Linked DNA regions of Homo sapiens: region 1 is linked to region 2. The links are contacts of gene promoters, found by promoter capture Hi-C in human tissues and cell types (Jung and others, 2019). All regions are on one chromosome and are shown on one strand. Each heading gives the region's core, a stretch centred on a gene start or on the middle of the fragment in contact. The rest is flanking DNA. Distances are from core to core; before and after follow the strand shown. Region 1 overlaps CYP3A4 (cytochrome P450 family 3 subfamily A member 4). Region 2 holds the start of CYP3A7 (cytochrome P450 family 3 subfamily A member 7).

What was found. Contacts are between HindIII fragments. The study calls those that stand out against the background at their distance.
Region 1: a fragment that was not itself captured here is called in contact with the fragment with the promoter of CYP3A7 in region 2 in 2 of the 25 tissues and cell types used here (bladder and pancreas).

Annotation. Positions count from the first base shown.
Region 1 is chr7:99,773,676-99,780,018 of GRCh38, reverse strand. It overlaps CYP3A4 (cytochrome P450 family 3 subfamily A member 4), which reads left to right. Exons shown (of 13, transcript NM_017460.6): 2 at 1-27; 3 at 1,939-1,991. Among named protein-coding and RNA genes, the nearest start is that of CYP3A4, 7.3 kb to the left of the region's middle. The HindIII fragment of the contact is 3,073 bases long and covers 895-3,967 here.
Region 2 is chr7:99,732,590-99,739,088 of GRCh38, reverse strand. CYP3A7 (cytochrome P450 family 3 subfamily A member 7) reads left to right here and starts at 3,893. Exons shown (of 13, transcript NM_000765.5): 1 at 3,893-4,066. The coding sequence starts at 3,996. It overlaps CYP3A7-CYP3A51P (CYP3A7-CYP3A51P readthrough), which reads left to right and starts at 3,893. Exons shown (of 15, transcript NM_001256497.3): 1 at 3,893-4,066. The coding sequence starts at 3,996. It also overlaps a transcript of ZSCAN25 not described here. RefSeq lists enhancers at 56-67, 1,159-1,188, 983-1,223, 1,534-2,733, 3,718-3,748 and 1 more and promoters at 3,754-3,996, 983-3,996. The HindIII fragment of the contact is 8,535 bases long and covers 1-6,499 here.

The DNA of each region.
Region 1 (6,343 bases), core at 1,182-3,681, 42 kb before region 2:
TTGGGAAATATTTTGTCCTACCATAAGGTGAGTGTTTTTGAGCTCACTCTTTTGCTTCTTATGATTGCCAAGAGCAGCTTAGTTCCATCAGTAAAAATGCTTCTCCTCAGGGGGAAGGTCTGAAGTTTTACACTTTCAGAAACAGTGTGTAGGCATCACCCAGAACATGGCAATGTTTACCCAAGGGCTCTCTTGCTAACTCTCAGGAACCTCAGGTTTGCCTCAGTTGAACAGCCCAAATCTCAGGTAGATCAGCAACCTGATGCTCAGAACTTGATGTGCAAACTTTGTGAGCGCCATAAAGAAGGTTTTCTTTTTGCTCTATGCAGGTTCCCAGGAAGGTACAGTCATACTTAGTTAGTATTAAAAGTAGGAAAAGGACCCCCTGATTGTGACTTGTTATCTGTGTACATGAGAGTCAAACTTTCCTCTCTGTAGCAAGAGCTCTTGAGTAGCCTTTTTTCCCTTCCTTCTGGACAGCTTTGAAACTCAATTTATTAGGGAGCCCAGGTATTTACCTTTGGGTCATTTGCACCTGCTTCAATCCTCTCCGAAAAATGCTAAATTCCCTGAGGGTATCTCCATGGCTCTACCCCAGCTCTTACTCCCCATGACATCTTTTGCAGCTTTGAGAGACAGAACAAAGGGGTTCTGCTTTATTTCTTTTCCTTCAAAGGCTGCACCTTATGGGTGAGTCTGATCACAGACTGGATATAACTGAGATGAGACAGTGGTGGTCAATCAAACTCAGATATTTAAGCACAAAATGAGTTTGTGGGGTTTTTTTTTTACACAAAGGCGGAATCACATGCAAAATCACTAGAAAGGGGATGATTTGATGAAATTATTAAATATTTAATTTTGCTGAATAGAATATAATATGTGCCACGTGGACCGTGAACTTTGGCCGAGCCTTTGTGCCTAACCTAGTCTGATGCTCTGCCCAGGGTCTGGGCCCTGGATGGAAAATTAGGAGCCCATGTCCACATGGCCAGCCGCAGCAGTCAGCTCTTTGGCTTACATCATCTTTCCCACATACCTGAGGCTTGTTTCTCAGATTCTAATTCTCTCAGGTGAGGGCTTTGTTGTCTAATTACTATCCAGGAATTTCATATTTTTTCCCTGTGCAAAAGCAATAATTTCCCCGCCACCTTTTCCAGGTCAACTCTTTAGTAGATGTACCCCCAAGATGCACATTCCTGGGACCTTTGTTTGCACAGTTAAAATGTCACCCCTGAAATGTCGATACAGGAAGGTTTGTTTTTAAGTTTCAGTGAAAACTCTGAGCAAGTGTTGTAATTTGCTGTGTCCGATGTGTAGAGGGGACATTTTCTCAGAACTTCCATGTTAAGCTGGAAAACTGGAAAGTGAGTTCACTTTGTCATTCTGTCACTCGTTCATTTTCTCACTCAACAACATGCCTCATACTTACCTAAATCTGCTAGACTAAAGGAGTTCCCTGGTGTCTGTAACTTTCCAATTCTGCTAGAACTCTAGAGCGAGCTCATGAAATAAATGAAAAGGATGACAAAGAGATAAAACACTGTGCATTCTCTTCTGATGCTAATTCACTTTCCCTTGGCCTCAGTTTCCCCATGTGCCCCTGGAGGTGATCATTCAGGGATTCATGAGATTTTCAAGACAACACATGAAAAAGCAAAAAGACATCAGAAAGACAAAGAGGTACTTAGTATTTATACACAAGGATAAGTCATTCAGTATCCACAACACTTGGAGAGAATTCAAGAGTGATTTTAAATTTCCCTTTTCAAATACCTCCTCTGTTTTCTCTTATTTCCTTTATGACGTCTCCAAATAAGCTTCCTCTAACTGCCAGCAAGTCTGATTTCATTGGCTTCGACTGTTTTCATCCCAATTAGAGGCAGGGTTAAGTACATTAAAAATAATAATCAAATATTATTTTGTTTCTCCTCCCAGGGCTTTTGTATGTTTGACATGGAATGTCATAAAAAGTATGGAAAAGTGTGGGGGTGAGTATTCTGGAAACTTCCATTGGATAGACTTGTTTCTATGATGAGTTTACCCCACTGCACAGAGGACAGTCTCAGCCCAAAGCCTCTTGGGATGAAGCTCTTGTCAACCTAACTACAAACAGAGAGAAGTTCTCTGAAAGAAGAAGATATTTATTTGGGTGTAGAGTATTGCAATGGGAATCTGCATGCCTTTATAAACTATGTGCAAATTCAGGGAAGTAAAGCAAGACAAAGAGGCTCCAAGGAAAATATGAGGAGGATTTCTTATCAGTTTTGAAATAATTATCCTTCGCTACAAAGATCAGTAACAAGGGTGACGCCTCACCAAGGTTGGACAGGCAGTTGCTGGGCAGGTGTCCTTGCAGAAATATTTTTTTTAATGTTGGGATGGCCTTTGTGCAAGCTTGTAGTTTTGCGGAGTCTTTTGTGATAGTTTTGTTATCAGGCACACAAGCATGAGAATCCTCTCTTCATAGCCTTCTTTGATTTATTTGTCAGGGTTTTTACACACACACACACACACACACACACACACACACACACACACAACTAGTGACATCATTTTGGTTCTAACAACATTCACACTGGTTATTGTAAAACTTTTCGAAGGTTGTCCTACCAAGGATCCCATGTGTCACCAGGTGTCAAGTTCTACAGTCTGAACTAGGCTGGGAGCATTGTGATTACTTTTCTCCAGACTTTGGTGGCCCAGGGACTCACAGCATCATGCTCTGTCCAGTGTCTGCCTATTCCCCTCTTCTTTTTTTTTTTCCTTAGGTGCCCTTTTATTACATGTGTTGTCTCAGACCCTTCTAATATGTGCTCATAAATACATCATATCATCTCCTTCCCACATCAATTCACTTTCAATTAAAAGCCAAAACTCTTTCATTTAGACTTTGGATTTAAAGTGCTTTTGAATGAAGGGTTGAGAGATAATAGAGAAATAGATTGGCAAACCATTTATACTCTGCTGTTGTTGTTTTTTAATTTTATCTGCAAGTGTGGAACTTTTCATTCTGTTTTGTTATTAAATTTAAGCCAAGACTTTTTAATAGAAGGGTATATAAGCATTTCTTTGTCTATACCTTCCTGCTGAATTTGAAGAAATGCTGAATATTCTTAACCACTGGCGGGCTGATGGACTGTGATTTTATTTTATTTTTTATTTTTAGTTTTTTAAATTATACTTTAAGTTCTGGGTTACATGCATAGAATGTGTAGTTTTGTTACATAGGTATACACGTGCCATGGTGGTTTGCTGCACCCATCAACCTGTCACCTACATTAGGTATTTCTCCTAATGCTATCTCTCCCCTAGCCCCCCACCCAACAACAGGCCCCAGTGTGTGATGTTTCCCTCCCCGTGTCCATGTGTTCTCATTGTTCAACTCCTACTTAGGAGTGAGAACATGTGGTGTTGAGTTTTCTGATCTTGTGATAGTTTGCTGAGAATGATGGTTTCCAGCTTCATCCTTGTCCCTGCAAAGGACATGAACTCATTGTTTTTTTATGGCTGCATAGTATTCCATGGGGTATACGTGGCACATTTTCTTTATCCAGTCTGTCACTGATGGACATTTGGGTTGGTTCCAAGTCTTTGGTATTGTGAATAGTTCTGCAATAAACATATGTGTGCATGTGTCTTTATCATAGAATGATTTATGCTTTGGGTATATGCCCAGTAATGGGATTGCTGGGTCAAATGGTATTTCTAGTTCTAGATCCTTGAGGAATCACCACACTGTCTTCCACAATGGTTGAACTAATTTACACTCCCACCAACAGTGTAAAAGTGTTCCTATTTCTCCACATCCTCTCCAGCATCTGTTGTTTCCTGACTTTTTAATGATCACCATACTACCTGGCATGAGATGGTATCTCATTGTGGTTTTGATTTGCATTTCTCTAATGACCAGTGATGATGAGCATTTTTTCACATGTCTGTTGGCTGCATAGATGTCTTCTTTTGAGAAGTGTCTGTTCATATCCTTTGCCCATTTTTTGATGGGGTTGTTTGCTTTTTTTCTTGTAAATTTGTTTAAGTTCTTTGTAGATTCTGGATGTTAGCCCTTCGTCAGATGGATAGATTGCAAAAATTTTCTCCCATTCTGTAGGTTGCCTGTTTGCTCTGATGATAGTTTCTTTTGCTGTGTAGAAGCTCTTTAGTTTAATCATATCCCATTTGTCAATTTTGGCTTTTGTTGCCATTGCTTTTGGTGTTATATTTATGAAGCCTTTGCCCATGCCTGTGTCCTGAATGGTATTGCCCAGGTTTTCTTCTAGGATTTTTATGGTCCTAGGTCTTACATTTAAGTCTTTAATCCATCTTGAGTTAATTTTTGTATAAGGTGTAAGGAAGGGGTCCAGTTTCAATTTTCTGCATATGGCTAGGCAGTTTCACCAACACCATTTATTAAATAGGAAATCTTTTCCCCATTGCTTTTGTGTGTCAGGTTTGTCAAACATCAGATGGTAGTAGATGCATGGTGTTATTTCTGAGGCCTCTGTTCTGTTCCATTGATCTATATTTCTGTTTTGGTACCTGTACCATGCTGTTTTGGTTACTGTAGCCTTTTAGTATAATTTGAAGTCAGGTAGCGTGATGCCTCCAGTTTTGTTCTTTTTGCTTAGGATTGTCTTGTCTATGTGGGCTCTTTTTTGGTTCCATATGAACTTTAAAGTAGTTTTTTCCAATTCTATGAGGAAAGTCAGTGGTAGCTTGATGGAAATAGCATTGAATCTATAAATTACCTTGGGCAGTATGGCCATTTTCATGATATGGAGTCTTCCTACCCATGAGCATGGAATGTTCTTCCATTTGTTTGTGTCCTCTTTTATTTCATTGAGCAGCGGTTTGTAGTTCTCCTTGAAGAGGAGAACTTCACATCCCTTGTAAGCTGGATTCCTAGATATTTTATTCTCTTTGTAGTAATTGTGAATGGGAGTTCACTCATGATTTGGCTCTCTGTTTGTCTATTATTGGTGTGTAGGAATGCTTGTGATTTTTGTAAATTGATTTTGTATCCTGAGACTTTCCTGAAGTTGCTTATCAGCTTAAGGAGTTTTGGGGCTGAGACGATGGGGTTTCCTAAATATACAATCATGTCATCTGCAAACAGAGACAATTTGACTTCCTCTTTTCCTAATTGAATATCCATTTCTTTCTCTTGCCTGATTGCCCTATTCAGAACTTCCGACACTATGTTGAATAGGAGTGGTGAGAGAGGACATCCTTGTCTTGTGCCGGTTTTCAAAGGGAATGCTTCTAGTTTTTGCCCATTCAGTATGATATTGGCTGTGGGTTTGTCATAAATAGCTCTTACTATTTTGAGATACGTTCCATTGATACCTAGTTTATTCAGAGTTTTTAGCATGAAAGGCTGTTGAATTTTGTCAAAGGCCTTTTCTGCATCTATTGAGGTAATTATGTGGTTTTTGTCATTGGTTCTGTTTATGTGATGGATTACATTTATTGATTTGGTATTTTGAACCCAGCCTTGCATCCCAGGGATGACGCTGACTTGATCCTGGTGGATAAGCTTTTTGATGTTTTGCTGGATTTGATTTGCCAGTATTTTATTGAGGATTTTCGCATCGATATTCTTTAGGGATATTGGACTAAAATTCTCTTTTTTTGTTGTGTCTCTGTCAGGCTTTGGTATCAGGAGATACTGGCCTCATAAAATGAGTTAGGGAGGATTCCCTCCTTTTCTATTGTTCAGAAAAATTTCAGAAGGAATGATAACAGCTCCTCTTTGTATCTCTGGTAGAATTCAGCTGTGAATCCATTTGGTCCTGGACTTTTTTTGGTTGGTAGCCTATTAATAATTGCCTCAATTCAAAACCTATTATTGGTCTATTCAGAGATTCAACTTCTTCCTGGTTTAGTCTTGGGAGGGGGCATGTGTCCAGGAATTTATCTATTTCTTCTAGATTTTCTAGTTTATTTGCATAGAGGTGTTTATAGTATTCTCTGATGGTAATTTGCATTTCTGTGGGATCAGTGGTGATATCCTTTTTATCATTATTTATTGCATCTATTTGATTCTTCTTTTTTCTTTATTAGTCTTGCTAGCAGTCTATCTATTTTGTTGACCTTTTTCAAAAAACCAGCTCCTGGATTCACTGATTTTTTGAAGGGTTTGTTGTGTCTCTATCTCCTTCTGTTCTGCTCTGATCTTAGTTATTTCTTGTCTCCTGCTAGCTTTTGAATTTGTTTACTCTTGCTTCTCTAGTTCTGTTAATTGTGATGTTACTGTGTCAATTTTAGATCTTTCCTGCTTTCTCTAGTGGGCATTTAATGCTATAAATTTCCCTCTACACACTGCTTTAAATGTGTCCCAGAG
Region 2 (6,499 bases), core at 2,644-5,143:
ACTAACCAACATACAGTGGCATCGAAGTGAGACACCTACCTCCTCCAGTGCCTAGAGTACATGTCCATGGACCTGTCACTCTCCTCAACACCACCCCTAAGCATGAGGCCCGAAAGCATTGCTAATCCCCTCCTCCAGCCACCAAAACTTAAAGGCCAGGTGTGGTGGCTCCTATCTGAAATCTCAGAACTTTAGGAGACAGCAGCAGGAGGATCACTTGAGGCCAGGAATTTGAGACGAGCCTGGGCAACATAGCTAGACACCATCTGTACTAAAAATTAGCTGGGCATGGTGGTATACCTGTAGTACCAGCTACTAAGGAGGCTGAGGTAGGAGGATCACTTGAACCCAGGAGGTGGAAGCTACAGTGAGCTATAACCACAGCACTGAACTCCAGCCTGAGCAACAGAGTGAGACCCTGCCTCAAAACAATTTCAAAAATAAATAAATAAAAACAAAACTTAGATACCACGTGGTCACCCCAACATGCAAAATCAAGTTTTCCCCTACTGAGAAGAATGGGGACTTGAGAGCTGAGTTACAGAGAGATAATCTGTCTTTTTTTTTTTTTTTTTTTTTTTTGGTTTACATCCTCAAGATCATGACCTGTGAAATTTGAATCTAATACACAAATCATTCCAGAGCAATGTTGCTTCTGCCTACCACGAGTAATTCACTTGGCCACTGGAAGTCAGAACAAGCTTCCCAGAAGAGAGGTACCACTTGGACTACCAATATAAAAGGATGAAAATATCGGAGTGAAGGTGTTCCTTGCATCACTGAGTCCCTGGACAGCCTGTCCACTCATGCTGATATCTGAGCCTAATGCTTCTCTGAATGTTGAGATTTAACTTTGATCCAATGAAACCAGACCAAGAAAGAAGAAACGTCTTTCATTGTTGATAAGGACATGATTTTTCTCACAATTTTATGATTATTTTTCCTTAGCTGTCCTATAATTATCTGCTTATTTGTCTCTTCTCCATGTGCTTAGGGTACAAAGTTGACCAAGACCAAGAATAATGTCTGGGAGCACAATACTGACAGCACAGCTTTAAAAACATGATGAATGCTTTAATACAGGAAATGAGTAGGGGAGAGGCAAGTGTTGCTTGGGTGTTCTTCCAATGCATAGTATCTTCCTTGACACAGTCAGTGCAGCTCTCAGTAGGCAAGTCCCTACATGTTAGAAGATGTTACTTTCTGTGGAATTAAGTGGCAGAACATGCCTTCAATTATTTTCCTTTGCAGAACAACACCAATTTCATTAGTTAGGACAGAGTGCTGGCTGCATTTGAATTCCAAGCAACGATTAGTCTATCACTGTTGGTATAGATTCCAACCAGTCACACCACCTCCTGAAGTTTGTAGGGCAGGTAAATCTTCATCTTAGAATAAAAATCATCTTAGCCAAGTAAGTGTTTTAGAGGAAAGAAGAAAACATAATCGTTTCCATAAGAGTTTTGTTTCTAAAAAAATAAGAAAGGCTCTTTGTTTAGGTGAGCTAATGAAGTTGTTGATAGTTATCAGATGACACTGGAATCTTTACTTGTCAGAATGTGTTCTGTGCACCTCTCGGTGTGGCAACATAGAGAGGGAGATCCTCCAGCAATGCCATTGATATGGTCAGAAACTGCATCTTTCTTTCTCCCTGCTGAGATGGAGTCCTTTGTTCTAGAAAACCCAGGGGGTGCCACTGGGAGTAACCCTTGAGACAGGAACACGAATCTCAACCAATTTCTGGTTGCAGCCTTGAGTCTTACTATTTGCCATAGTGATGCTTAGCAAGGAATGGCAGGTGCACCAGAGCAGCAGAGGACCTAATATCTCCCTTCCTGTTAACTTTTTATAATATTTTATTGTGATCAGTATCAGTTGGGAAGCTACTTGCAGTCACTGAGCCTCAGTTTCTACATCTGTAAACTGGGGATAGTAGCATGGCCCTATTTAATGTGCTCAGCGAAGCCACTGAAAGGAGACAGAAATGTACCAGAATTCCCTGGACTTTTATCCTACTTCTCCTGGGGATTGTCACCCACCTACCCGTGTCTGTCCTTTGTTGCTTTGACGCTGTCACTTCTTTTCTTAGGTACCTCTCTGTAGGGCTCCATTATTCCAGGGATTCCAGAGTTACAGCACATGCATACCTCCATCCAAGCATGTTTATTTGTCTCCTGCTTCACTAGGCTGTCCCCAAGGAACATGTGGCTCCCGGCACATACCTGGCACAACACTGCACATGACATTCACCCACTTGGCCTTGAATCTGACAAGGAATCTGGCATGATGTTCACCTGCTGAGGCCAGGTGCCGAGCAGCCCTGGAGGCTTAGGGGCCAGAGGGATGGGAAAAGGTGTCTTTCTGGGGTGAGTATCAGTTTCTGCAGGAGTGCTGAACCTGAGAAAGAATAAAGAGAGAAGGAAGTGAACAAGCACAGCTTAAACATCATCTGTTTCTACTGAGTTTTAACAACTCTGAGATTTTGTTTGTCATGGAATCCATTTCTCAGGCCAAGCAGACACAGAACTTGGGTGTGAGTGATGATAATGAGCTGATATAATTTTCACACCCTCATCACTGAGATCTCTCCCATCAGGAATGGGTCACAGGGCTCACAGGTGGCAGCAACTGTTATTACAGGCCTCATCTCTACCAGCTCCTGGCACCTGCTCTCCTCCCATTAGAAAATCCTCCACTTGTCAAAAAGGAAGCCATTTGCTTTGAATTCCAATTCCACCCTCAAGAGGCTGGGACCACCTCATTGGAGTCCTTGATGCTGTGTGACCTGCAGTGACCACTGCCCCATTGTTGCTGGCTGAGGTGGTTTGGGTCAACCTGGCCATCTGGGCAGCTGTTCTCTTCTCTTCTTTCTCCCCTACTGTTTCCAGACATGCAGTATTTCCAGAGAGAAGGGGCCACTCTTTGGCAAAGAACCTGTCTAACTTTCTATCTACGGCAGGACTTTTGAAAGCTACAGAGGAAGAAGCACAAATTGATGCTATTCCACTAAGCCATCAGCTCCATCTCATCCATGCCATGTCTCTTTTTTAGGGGTCCTCTTGCCAACAGAATCACAGAGGACAAATCTGAAAGTGCAGAGACAGCAGCTGAGGCACAGCCAAGAGCTCTGGCTGTATTAATGACCTAAGAAGATGGAGTGGTCACCAGAAAGTCAGAGGAAGTGACACACAGGGGCCCAGCAATCTCAGCCAAGTCAACTCCACCAGCCTTTCTGGTCCCCACTGTGTGTACAGCACCCTGATAGGGACCAGAGCCATGAGAGTGAGTAAGACCAGACTATGCCCTTGAGGAGCTCACCTCTGCTAAGGGAAACAGGCCTGGAAACACACAATGGTGGTAAAGAGGAAAGAAGACAATAGAACTGCATGAAGGGGATGGAAAGTGCCCAGGGGAGGAAATGGTTACTTCTGTGTGAGGGGGTTGGTGAGGAAAGACTCTAAGAGAAGGCTCTGTCTGGCTGGGTATGAAAGGATGTGTAGGAGTCTTCTAGGGGGCACAGGCACACTCCAGGCATAGGTAAAGATCTGTAGGCATGGCTTGTTGGGATGAGTTTCAAGTATTCTGGAATGAGGACAGCCATAGAGACAAGAGGAGAGTTAATAGATTTTATGCCAATGGCTCCACTTGAGTTTGTGATAAGAACCCAGAACCCTTGGACTCCCCAGTAACATTGATTGAGTTGTGTATGATTCTACATAGAATATTAACTCAATGGAGGTCAGTGAGTGGTGTGTGTGTGATTATTTGCCAACTGCCGAGGTGGAGAAGCCTCTTCCGACTGCAGGCAGAGCACGGGGGCCCTGCTACTGGCTGCAGCTCCAGCCCTGCCTCCTTCTCCAGCATATAAACAATCCAACAGCCTCACTGAATCACTGCTGTGCAGGGCAGGAAAGCTCCACACACACAGCCCAGCAAACAGCAGCACGCTGCTGAAAAAAAGACTCAGAGGAGAGAGATAAGGAAGGAAAGTAGTGATGGATCTCATCCCAAACTTGGCCGTGGAAACCTGGCTTCTCCTGGCTGTCAGCCTGATACTCCTCTATCTGTGAGTAACTGTTCAGGCTCCTCTTCTCTGTTTCCTTGGACTTGGGGTGCTAATCAGGCCTCTCTTTCCCTTATCTGTTTTGAATAGCAAAAAGGATGTTCAGGCTGGCCGTGGTGGCTCACACCTGTCATCCCAGAACTTTGGGATGCTGAGCAGGTGGACTGCCTGAGGTCAGGAGTTCAAGACCAGCCTGGCTAATATGGTGAAACCCCATCTCTACTAAAATTACAAAAATTAGCTGGGCATGGTAGTGCATAACTGTAGTCCCAGCTACTTGGGTGGCTGAGGCAGGAGAATTGCTTGAACCTGGGAGGCGGAGGTTGCAGTGAACTGAGATCATGCCACTGCACTCCAGCCTGGGTAACAGAGTGAGATTCCATCTCAAAAAAAAAAAAAGAGAAAAAAAAGAAAAAAAAAGATTTTCAAGGAGAAGTAGCTTAAGTGTTGGATGCTACAAACATATAGAGGTTATGATGGATGTTTTGCAGATCTATAAAGGAATAAATAAGCATCTCCCCCATTCATCTTTAGTGGAAAGAAGGGTTTAGGGACAGCATTGATTGAGGATAATCTAATAGACAATGGTTTGTACCCAGCTTACCAAACCAGAATTTGGATTTTACATTTTTCCCTTTAAGTTGCAGGAGAAGAGGGTGAATCTTCTCACCAGTGAGATCCTGGCATCCTAGAGCAGGTGGAGAGAAGAGTCACTCCCTACTGTGTGTACTGGAGGCTTCCCGCCTGTCACATTTTACTTCTAACTCAATTTCACAGTTATTAAGAGTAAGGAATCATGGTCACATGGAAACAGAAAATACAAACCTCGTTTTAATTCTTTCACAGAAAAGTTAGCAATTCAGTGAGTTGTGGTAACATAGTTTCCATCTACTGGCAATTTAACATGAATTGGTGTGGCTTAAATTCATCCTTTTTAAAGCCAGATTTTTTTGGAGATAGACTATTTCCAGCATGTTCCTTCTGAGTGATAAAAGAGGGCTATTAGTTCAGTATTTGTGACAATAAATGTGTATAAGATAACCTCACCTTTCCAGAATAATGTCAGGAATATGAGTCTAATGTACAAATATATATCTCTAGGACAAGACTGCATATGTCTTTTTAAAAATACTTTCCCAAGAGTTTATTTTAATACCCCCATTTCAAATACACCTGCTTAGCAGGTTATCCTAAACTCTCAGGGCTAGAAAGTAAGCAAGACTGTGAGCCAGTGATGATAGCAAAAGCATCCAGGTAGGATCAAGATGAAGTGAGAAAATATTCCTTACCCCTCAGGGTAGAACTCCAAATAGATATTCATGGGTCCTGGCCCCCTAGTGGAGGTCACTTGAAGGACAAACATGTTGGCATCTCATCTGCTTGAAGCCTGGACACAAGGGCACCATCAGTGTCACTCTGTGTGTGGCTGGCCATGTTGTGGGGCTGTCACTACAGATTCTGGCAGTCAGGCAGACAATACCTTAGCCTTAGACGATGCCGGTACAGCCCAGGATTCAGAAGCTATAGTGTAGACCATGCCCTTCTTAGGCCTATACAATTACATGCAATAGATGATGGATTTTTCTGTTAGCCTCTTCATTGTAACAAAAAGCAGCATTACTCTACCAAACAGAGGGGAGCTGGAAAGAAACTAAACAGTTTGCCAAGCACAGCCTCTGCCTTGACGTGGAATCATGTGAATCTAGACACTCACCTAGATCTTTCCTCGGGGGCCAATGCTGCTCACACATTAACTCAATAGTTTGTCCTGGCCTGAGAGATCATGTAACATGTAGAAAGTTTAGAAGCAGAGATTAGTGCCATTGATTTTCCATGGCTGTGACAACAAAGGAAGGAACAGGAGTGGGAAAACCCAAGGCCACCCTGGTTGTGGTAGATGGTGCACACACTTCCACTAACTATTCTGGGGCAAGGATCCAAATGCACTATTGGGCCTGGCTATGCTGTCTCTGCTGGGTTCTCCAAACACGAGCCTCCATGCTGTTTCTTAGTTGTATTTTACCACATATTATCAGAGTCACTGGATTTGTACAGAATGTTTGGAACCTATACTGCCTTAATGGCTACCCTTTAAAGAAGAGAAAACAAGGTCTTAATTCAACTATCTGGAACATTTTATGGTTACTTATGTGGAATACTCCATCTTTTGCTATCAACAGGAAGGTACCTGGCCATTAGAAGGTGCCTGCCTTTCAGCTGAAAGCACATATGAGGCATATGGATCCATTTATACACACCGTACTTTTGAACCACATTTTCCTAATTTGCCTGTCTGGGGCCAAGCTTGTGGGACTAGCAGATTCATGGTTGAATTGATGGCTGGCTACCTCTTCCATCAACTTTTCTGCTTCATCCAGTCTTCCACCCCTCAGTAACCTCAAACTGGGAAGGTCTTCAGATATCCAGAATCCCCAG